Linked DNA regions of Homo sapiens: region 1 is linked to region 2. Evidence: promoter capture Hi-C in 16 types of primary human blood cells and fetal thymus (Javierre and others, 2016). All regions are on one chromosome and are shown on one strand. The core of a region is centred on a gene start or on the middle of the fragment in contact, and the rest is flanking DNA. Distances in the headings are between cores, read along the strand shown. Region 1 has its middle 7.2 kb from the start of MYCL. Region 2 holds the start of CAP1 (cyclase associated actin cytoskeleton regulatory protein 1).

What was found. The method cuts DNA at HindIII sites, captures the fragments that hold promoters and counts their contacts. A CHiCAGO score of 5 or more calls a contact.
Region 1: a contact is called between a fragment that was not itself captured here and the fragment with the promoter of CAP1 in region 2, in 3 of 17 cell types (M0 macrophages, M1 macrophages and M2 macrophages). The highest score is 6.8, in M0 macrophages.

Annotation. Positions count from the first base shown.
Region 1 is chr1:39,906,680-39,911,464 of GRCh38, reverse strand. No RefSeq gene overlaps it. Among named protein-coding and RNA genes, the nearest start is that of MYCL, 7.2 kb to the right of the region's middle. The HindIII fragment of the contact is 3,087 bases long and covers 1-2,908 here.
Region 2 is chr1:40,037,258-40,042,401 of GRCh38, reverse strand. CAP1 (cyclase associated actin cytoskeleton regulatory protein 1) reads right to left here and starts at 1,673. Exons shown (of 13, transcript NM_006367.4): 1 at 1,601-1,673. It overlaps LOC105378669 (a long non-coding RNA gene), which reads left to right and starts at 1,956. Exons shown (of 3, transcript XR_001738013.3): 1 at 1,956-3,511; 2 at 4,251-4,305. RefSeq lists enhancers at 1,374-1,463, 1,534-1,733, 1,387-2,021, 1,984-2,053, 2,022-2,655. The HindIII fragment of the contact is 17,502 bases long and covers 1-5,144 here.

The sequences.
Region 1 (4,785 bases), core at 116-2,615, 130 kb after region 2:
TAGGATGGGGCTGAAAAGAAGAAGATTGGATGAAAGTAAAAGGAATTAGACTCCTAAATTTTCTCCCTCAACTTCTGTAATCAGGTGACTGCCCTCTTCCTACCTGGCGGGAGACAGGTTGAATTGAGAGGCTGTGGATTTGGGAACACCAGGCACAGCTGAGAACAAGAGTGATGGACTGTACTGAAGTCAGGGAGGGATTAGCTGAACCATAAGATAGATCCCTTCATCTCCTTTCCCCTCTTGGTACCCAGAAGGCTGGCAGCCAGGTTTCTAACCTCGCCCTGGTAGATTAGAGGCCTTCTATATGTGAAAATAGAAAGGTAGGTGGCTCATGCCTGTAATCCCAGCACTTTGGGAGGCTGAGGTGGGTGGATTACCTGAGGTCAGGAGTTCGAGAACAGCCTGGCCAACACGGTGAAACCCCGTCTCTACTAAAAATAAAAAAAATTAGCTGCGGCTGGGTGCAGTGGATCACACCTGTAATCCCAGCACTTTGGAAAGCTGAGGCAGGTGGATCACGAGGTCAGGAGATTGAGACCATCCTGGCTAACACAGTGAAACCCCGTCTCTACTAAAAATACAAAAAAAAAAGAAAATTAGCCGGGCATGGTGGCAGGCGCCTGTAGTCCCAGCTACTTGGGAGGCTGAGGCAGGAGAATGGCGTGACCCTGGGAGGCGGAGCTTGCAGTGAGCCAAGATCGTGCCACTGCACTCCAGCCTGGGCGACTGAGCAAGACTCCGTCTCAAAAAAAAAAAAAATTAGCTGGGCATGGTGGCAGGCGCCTGTAATCCCCAGGTACTTGGGAGGCTGAGGCAGGAGAATAGCTTGAACCCGGAAAGCGGAGGTTGCAGTGAGCCGAGATTGCACCATTGCACTACAGCCTGGGTGACAAGAGTGAAACTCTGTCCCAGAAAAGAAAAGAAGAGAAAAGAAAAGAAGAAAAAAGAAAAGAAAAGAAAAGAAAGGAAAAGAAAAGAAGAAAAGAAAAAAAAGAAAAAGAAAGATGTACTCATACTGACAGTTGAGGAGTCCCCTGCTAGGTACCTGCCTAAAACCCTTTAGTGAAGCTCAGTAATCAAATACCTCCCCACACACACATATAGAGCTTTCAATCAGCTTTTAATGCCTCACTGTTTTGTTTTGTTTTCTTTAACATGTGGTCTCACTATATTGCCCAGGCTGATCTTGAACTCCTGGGCCCAAGCAATCCTCCTGCCTCAGTCTCCCAAGGGATTACATATGCACACCACCATGCCTGGCTCTACTCTGTAATATACATAAACATCTATACCAAGGATTATCGGATGTTTGAGAAAGCCTCTAATGAAACACACAGAGCAAAGTAAGCAAGGGAGAAGTCAGAGAAAACAGGGAGCAGGAAAGACTTTCAAAATTTATAATAAGTATGAAAACTATTATTAATAGCCTCAGAGGAAAATGGGAAAAAGATTGTGTCCATGGAAAAAGAACAGGAAGCTCCAAAAAGGGAACATTTAGGGAACAACAAGAAAAAGAGGTCTTAAAAATTAAAAAATATCAGTCAAAAAATGTTTAAGTTGAGAAAAGGATTGGAAGTTGAGAACATGAATAAAAGGATTGGACGTTTGGCTGGGTGTGGTGGCTCACACTAATAATCCACCTATAATCCCAGCACTTTGGGAGGCTGAGGCAGGTGGATTGCTTAGCTCAGGAGTTTGAGACCAGCCTAGCAAATATAGGGAAACCCTATCTCTATTTTTATTTTAGAAAAAAAAAAGGATTAGAAGTTTGACTCCTAGGAAGTTGAACAGAACACATAAAGGTAGAGATGAGAGAAAAGAAAAGACAAGACAGGAGTTTCAGAGAGGGAGAAGGGAAAAAAAATGGAGGGGAGGAATTTCCCAAAGGAATAATTACAGAGTGAATTGGTTTCCATATTAAAAGATTTAGGGCAGCTGGGTGTGGTGGCGCCTGCCTGTAATCCCAGCACTTTGGGAGGTCAAGGCAGGCAGATCACTTGAAGTCAGGAGTTCAAGACCAGCCTGCCCAATATGGGGACACTCCATCGCTACTAAAAATAACAAAATTAGCCAGGCATGATGATGGGCACCTGTAATCCCAGGTACTTGGGAGGCTGAGGTGGGACAACTGCTTGAACCCAGGAGGTAGAGGTTGCAGTGAGCTGAGATTGTGCCACTGCACTCCAGCCTGGGTGACAGAGCAAGACTCCGTCTCAATTTAAAAAAAATAAATAGCAGGGCATAGTGGATCACGCCTGTAATCCCAACACTTTGGGAGGCTGAGGCAGGCAGATCACGAGGTCAGAAGATCGAGACCATCCTGGCTAACATGGTGAAACCCCGTCTCTACTAAAAATACAAAAAGTTAGCCGGGCGTGGTGATGGGCACCTGTAGTCCCAGCTACTCGGAAGGCTGAGGCAGGAGAATGGCGTGAACCCAGGTGGCAGAGCTTGCAGTGAGCCAAGATTGCGCCACTGCACTCCAGCCTGGGAGACGAGCGAGACTCCATCTAAAAAAAATAAAAATAAAATAAATAAATAAATAAATAAAAAGGCTTAGCGCAAAGAATTCAAAAAGATGCTGCAATGCAATTCTGACACTATCTAGAGTTAGGCCAAACTTCACAAGTTAATGGCACAGTCTCCACAAGACTGCCTTCACTTCAGAAACCAGCTATTAATAGAAGCTCAGGGTTTCCCAGGCCACCCACACTTCTGACCAAATGACTACAAATCTGGGGGTTCCCACTACCTACTTAGGTTCAATAATTCCACAGAACACCAAACTCAGGAAAGCACTAAACTTATAGTTACAGTTTTATTATAGCAAAGGCAATACAAATCAGGACCAGGCAAAAGAAGAGACACAAAAGGCAAGGTCTTGGAGGATCCCAAACTTAAAGCTTCCAGTGTCCTTTTCCCGTGAAGTCAGGATGCATCATCCTCTGGCACATTGATGTGTAACAATACACACAGACTATTATTAACCAGAAAAGCTCACCAGAGCTTCAGTGTCCAGAGTTTTTATTGAGGGTTCATTATGTAGGCACGATTAACTGAATCATTGTCCAGATTATTTAACTAAATCTCCAGCCCTCTTCCCCTGCCCAGAGGTCAGATTGATTATCAAGTGGCTCAAAAGCCCAGCACTCTAATCACATGGTTTGTCTTTCTGGCATGGACAGCCCCTATCATGAGTCATCTTAAACTATCTAGGGGTCCCCCATGGGCCACCTTATTAGCATAAGCTATCAGTGCCTGCCATAAATAACAGACACACCTATTACCTGGGAAATTCCAAGGATTTAGAGGTTACCTCCAAGGAACTGGGGAGAAAGGCCAATAAATTCTTTATTCCAACAGACCCACACCAAGGCACATCATTGAAAACATTTAAAATGCCAGGGACAAAGAATATATCCTAAAAGCTACCAGAGAAACAGGTCACATACAAAGGTTTGTAGATAAAATGACATCAGTCTTCTCAATAGCAATACTGGCTGCTAAGAAACAGAAAAAAAGTACTTTTAGAATTCTCAGGGGAAATTATTTTCTAATCTAATATTCTCTAGCCAGCCAAACCATCAACCAAAGGGTATACCAAAGAAAATTTCAGAAACACAAAGTCTCAAAACTTTTACTTCCCAAGTACCTTTTCTCAAAGCAGCTGCTGGAGGATATGCTCCACCAAAGTGAGGAAGTAAAACGAGAAAGAGGAAGAAACAAGCTCCAGAAAACAGGGGATGCGACACAGGAGAGAAGCAGAGGGAATTTCCAAGATGATGGTAAAGGGAAGTCACAGGATGACAATTGTGAAGCAGGCCAAGAGATCAATAAGTTCAGACTAGAACAGGAAGACAAAGGACTCCAACCAAGATGATTCCTAGAAAAAAAATGTAACTGATAGACTGATTACCTAGTGTGTTTGACCATATGGAGTAATCTTTGTAGCTCTAGTGGGAATGTGTAGGGTTAAATTCATAATAGATATGTAGAAATCTAAGCAAAAGAAAAACTGAGGCAATTTAACACTGAAAAAAAATATTGTATAAGAAAGGAATTATAAACTGGGTACAGTGGCTTAGGCCAGCATTTGGGGAGGCCCAGGCAGGAGGATCACTGAGCCCAGGAGTTCAAGACCAGCCTGGGCAACATAGTCAGACCCTGTATCTACAAAAAAAAAAAGAAAAGAAAAGAAAAAAAAATTTTTAATTAGCCAGGTGTGGTGGTGTGCACCTGCAGTCCTAGCTACTAGGGAGGCTGAGGTAAGAGGATCGCTTGAGCCCAGGAGGCTGAGACTACAGTGAGCCAAAATGGTGCCACTGCACTCAAGCCTGGGCAACAGAGTGAGACCTTGTCTTGAAAAAAGAAAAAAAAAGAAAGTAAAGGAAATTTAGGCTGGCTCTGGAAGCTCTACCTATGAGTATGAGTTAGGCTTGCTCTGCAAGGGCAATTTAAAAAAAGAAAAAGAAAAGAAAAAGAAAAAGGGCCGGGCATGGTGGCTCACGCCTGTAATCCCAGAACTTTGGGAGGCTGAGGTGGGTGGATCACCTGAAGTCAGGAGTTTGAGACCAGCCTGGCCAACATAGTGAAACCCCATCTCTACTAAAAATACAAAAATTAGCCAGGCATGGTGGCGCACACCTGTAGTCTCAGCTACTCAGGAGGCTGAGGCAGAAGAATTGCTTGAACTCAGGAGGTAGAGGTTGCAGTAAGCAGAGATCATGCCATTGCACTCTAGCCTGGGCAACAGAGCAAGACTCCATCTCAAAAAAATAAAGA
Region 2 (5,144 bases), core at 424-2,923:
TTAGCCTCCCATTTCCTCCTGGAACCCTGGGCACCTGGCTCAGGTATTTCTCCACTGTGCTCTTGTAGCCCTGTGCTATGCACTATGACACTGTAAGCCATCCCTCATTTACTTGTCTATTTCCTCTCCCACTGTAAACTCCAGAAGAACTGTATTCTTTGCCACAAAGGCTATCTCATTAAAATGTGCCTCATACATATTAAGGTCTTAATAAACGTCTGGTGGGGCCGGGCACGGTGGATCATGCCCGTAATCCCAGCACTTTGGGAGGCCGAGGTGGGGGGATCACCTGAGGTTAGGAGTTCGAGAGCAGCCTGGCCTTCACGGCGAAACCCCATCTCTACTAAAAATACAAATAAATAAATTAAATAAAAGTCTGGTAAATGATAAATGTGCTGATATGCCCCCGGATTTTCTCTTGAAGAGAGAGCCCCACAAAGAGCTTCAACTGACACAGTTCTGATGCTAACCTGTCTCAAATGTTCTCATTCCACTCTTCGAACGCATTCCTATTTATCCTTCAAAATTCATCTTAAAAACTCTGCTTCTTCAGAAGGGCTTTTCCTGAACCCCCTGTTACATACTTTCAGAGCACCCTGTTCTTTCCTAACACTCATCAACATTTATAATTACTTCTTAAACATCCCTGCAAACACTGCTAGCTCCACGCGGGCAGGGTCTACATTGTTTTGTTTTAAAGCTGCATTCCCCGCATCTGGGAAAATGCTGGCACAGAATAAACACAATTTGTTACGCTGAATTTAATCTTGTGGGGTCAGCAGAGATCTCCACTTAAAAGATGAACAAAAGGAGGCTGAAAGAAGTTTAAGGCACCTATGGCCACAGACACTCAGCACTGAGGCCAGACCAAACCTGAGCCGTCTGATTTCAGGTCCAGAAGTACATACCTTCAATGTTAGCCTGGCTTGTCAAAGTAAGAGCAGCAGCCGAGGAGGAAAGGGAGGATATCTGCCTGTAAATACAAGGATGTGCCCGCCTTTCTTTTAAAAACTCCCTAGGCATTTCAAACGGCTCAATTTGGGAGGAGAGAAAAAAAAAAGTTCCACGCAGCGCTGGCCTTTAACCTGCAGCAGCCTGCGGGGCAACACCGACCGGAAGACCATCCCAAGTTAGAGAGGTTCCGAGCAACACGGGAAGAACTGGGGCTGGTTATCTAAGGCACCAGGATCATGATTCCGATTCTTTTCCTCACTCGCTATATATCTCAGACTAGCCTCTTCTCTAGGGATCAATTTACCTATCAGTGCAATGGGAGCATCAACAGGAGACAGGGAAGACTCTCCGATCTCGGAGGTTCCTTCCAGTCAGAGCACCTCAGGAATCAGGCCTCCGCTGAAGCTGATGGGCAGCGCTGCGAAATCGGGCAGAGGGGCCTCCCCGGGGCACCCGGACTCAGCTGCTCACCCCGGCCCCACCTCAAGAGACCGCGCCCAAGAGTCCGGGTCGGCCTGAGGGCCTCAGCCCCGGCCCTCTCGGCAGGGTTCATGACACGCGCGTAGGCCAGAAGGGCCATTAACACCACCAGGGGCCGATGGGCCCCGGAAGGGACCCCAATCCCTACCAAGCTGCACACCCTCACCTCAGAGTTCCGCCTCACCTCCGGACTGCGATCAGCCGCTCTCCGCTTCCGGCAAGAACCGCCCAGCAATCTCCGCGCGACCCACTTCCGGGCCCTCACTGGGCGCGGCGCCCCCACCGGAAATGAGCCGCCGGCTGAAGCGCTAGGCTGGCCCGCGACTGGGCAGGAAGTCTCACCGCCCCGCTCGTGACTCCGCCCCTCTTCGCCACGCCCCGGAGAGAGCGGCCCGGCTCTCACAGAGGGCACTTGGGAAAGAGCCCCGCCCTCAAGGCGGGAGCGACACGGGGAGGGCGGGCTCACAAGAGAGGCCACGCCCTCGTTCCGCTTTACCTACCCGGAATCGCCCCCGAGGCCCGGGCCCAGGAAGGGCAGAAGTCCCTGGCTAAGCTCCTCTCTGGAAAGAACAGAAGAGTGACCAGTTCCTCTGTCAGTTTGGTCTCAATGGCAGAGGCCGGTTCCTTTAAGCTGCAGTCCGTAAAGGGTCTTGGAACGACTGGGGGCCAGGATTCTCTGAGGGCGGGAATCCGGGCGGCCGTCAGCTCTCGGTGGTGATCGAGGCCACGCTCCGCCTGTCTCTGGGCGTGCATACCTCGGTTTCCCCGTTTGTGACGTGGGAAGGCAATTAGTCTGGACATTGTTGTGGGAGGACTTGCGGAGACTGGGCGCAGGGCGTGGGGGTCAGTGAGGGCGCGGTGGGTCAGCCCCAGCCCGGCTGGCAGTCGCGGGGCTGGGAAGGTAGGGAACCCTCCGCTCTCACCCCACTTCCTGTTTGGTCGGTGTGTTCTGTGACCATAGATGGTCAAGTCTGGGGCCGCGCGGAAGCCTCCGCCCTGTGGTTTTGGAGCCCTTCCTCCCGGCGCGCAGGGTGTGGTCCCCGAGAATAAGATGAGCAGAATTAAAGCAGATCCTGCACCCACTCTGCTGAAATCCGGCTTCTGAGGCAGCCTCGCCCAGGGCTGGGTGGGCTCAGGCGGCTGCTACTCGGTTCAGGGGAGGTTACGCACGGTGGCTGCCGCGCGCAGGGGAGGCTTCGCTTCCGTACTCCTTGGGCCGGGAGATCCGATCTTTGTTCCCTCAAGACTCACACTCTCCAACCGGTCATTATCCTCCCACAAAGATTTATTTCTAGAAAAAATTGGCAAGTGCCACAGTTCCCGCCCCTTCAGCTGAACGACTGTGACAGCTCCGTGTTTCAAGTTGAATGCAGGCGTTATGTGCCAGAGTCAATCATTCAACAAATAAAGTTCTTAAAATAACAGCTACCATTTACTGCACGCTGACTACTTGCCAGGCCCATGCTGAGTTCTTCAAGCGTATTTTCATTTACTCCTAATAGCAACTCTCGGTGGTAGGTACCATTATGCCCTCTAGTTTTCAAATGAGGAAGCTGAATAACTTGCCAAGGTCAGAAAGTAACTGTTGAAACTTTGAAGGAAACACATCTGTCTGACTCTAAATCCCATGAGCTTAATTAGCCCCTGTGATAGACCATACTGCAGACATTTGAGGCAGATTTGAGGTGGTGAATGCCTCTGGATCTGGAGACACTGGGTTCCAGTGCTGGCATAGGCCCTCTACTAGGGGTCAGACTTTGGTCAGGTTACTTTGGACGGGTTACTGGGCCTCTTCCTAACTTTATGGCTCCCAGCATGTTTAAAAGAACATGACAACATGAAAAAATATGGTATAAAAGTCATAGTATATTTTAAATATTGACATTTAACTAAAAACACTGTCTCACACACACACAAACTCTAACTTTATTTGGACATAATCTTTGACTCTGCATTTAGTTATTCTAAATCTCTTTCTGGATTAGAGACAGAAGGAACATAGACCATACACGCATTCTAGAGGAAGAGGAGAGAGAAGAGGAAGCAGGAAGGAGAATGAAGAAAGTTTCCTCATCAGGTGGGGAATATTAATGGGGCTGTAATGAGAAACGGAAGCAGTAATGTATGTGAAACCACTTTGTAAAATGCTTCATTATAAAGAATGCACACACGACTTAAGTTACAACCCCTGCCCTAAGGAATGTCCAGTCTTTTAAGAAGTCTAGATCCATGCATTTGTAACTCCAGTAGGAGATGGGAAGATAGTTTAAGAATATCCGTCACATGAAGGGCTGGGCGCGGTGGCTCACACCTGTAATCCCAGCATTTTGGGAGGCCGAGGCGGGCAGATAACGAGGTCAAGAGATCAAGACCAGCCTGGCCAATATGGTGAAACCCCGTCTCTACTAAAAAATACAAAAATTAGCTGGGCGTGGTGGCATGCGCCTGTAGTCCCAGCTATTTGGGAGGCTGAGGCAGGAGAATCGCTTGAACCCGGGAGGCAGAGGTTGCAGTAAGCTGAGATCGTGCTTCTCTACTCTAGCCTGGCGACAGAGTGAGACTCTGTCTCAAAAAAATAAATAAAAGAATATCTGTCACATGTATTTATGCACTGAAAAAAAACTATTGAGCTACATAGTAGCAATTATTGGAAGAGTTCAATAATTGCTATGCTACTTTGTACCAAGCACAACTAGGGATCCAGCAGTGGACAAGTCAGACCCTGTTACTGCTCTCATGGAGCTTACAGTCTATTTTGGAAATGATATTTCCATTTGGAGTGGTCATCAGAAGATACGCTGCCTTCTGTCTTCCAGCTTTTTCCTCCTCGCTGATCTTGCCCCTTGTCCAGTACCCAGTGCTTCATCCATGGTGAGTTCTCATCTAGCACATGTTCAGTGAGTGCCTTGAATTCAGAATAGTCATTTCCTAGGCAGAGATGGACAGATAGATCCTTGCAGAGCAAACATGAATGAACAGTAGTGGAGATGGGAATCTGTGCTGGACTGAGGTGAGAGGTTCCTGCAGGAGAAAAGTAGGAGATAAGGCTGAAGAAAAGGAGGTTGAGCAAACTATGCTAGGCAAGAGAGGTCAAACCTTAATGTGAAAGCGAGGAGGCACTAGTCATACTGTATTTTAGAAATAAAAATCTAGCTACAGTGTAGGGCATGGCCTTCAGTGGGCAACAAAAGAGGCAGGGAGAACTGCTAGAAGATAAGCACAAAGATCTAATAAGAATCTGAATCGGCCAGGCGCGGTGGTTCACACCTGTAATCCCAGCATTTTGGGAGGCCGAGGTGGGCGGATCACCTGAGGTCAGGAGTTCGAGACCAGCCTGGCCAACATGGCGAAACCTCATCTCGACTAAAAATACAAAAATTAGCCAGGCATGGTGGTGGGCACCTGTAGTCCCAGCTACGTGGCCGTAAACCCAGCTACTCGAATCTGCTGAGGCAGGAGAATCACTTGAACCCAGGAGGTGGAGGTTGCAGTGAGCTGAGATCACGCCACTGCACTCCAGCCTGGGTGACACAGCAAGACTCCGTCTCAGAAAAAAAAGAAAGAAAAAGAAAGAAATTTGTATTATTTATAAATTACCCAGTCTAGGTATTTTGTTATAGCAGCAGGAATGAATTAAGACACATTCTCATTCAATACTGCTTTTCCTTCCTGGCAGGTATTACAATCCTCATTCATTATTTGTGCACTTA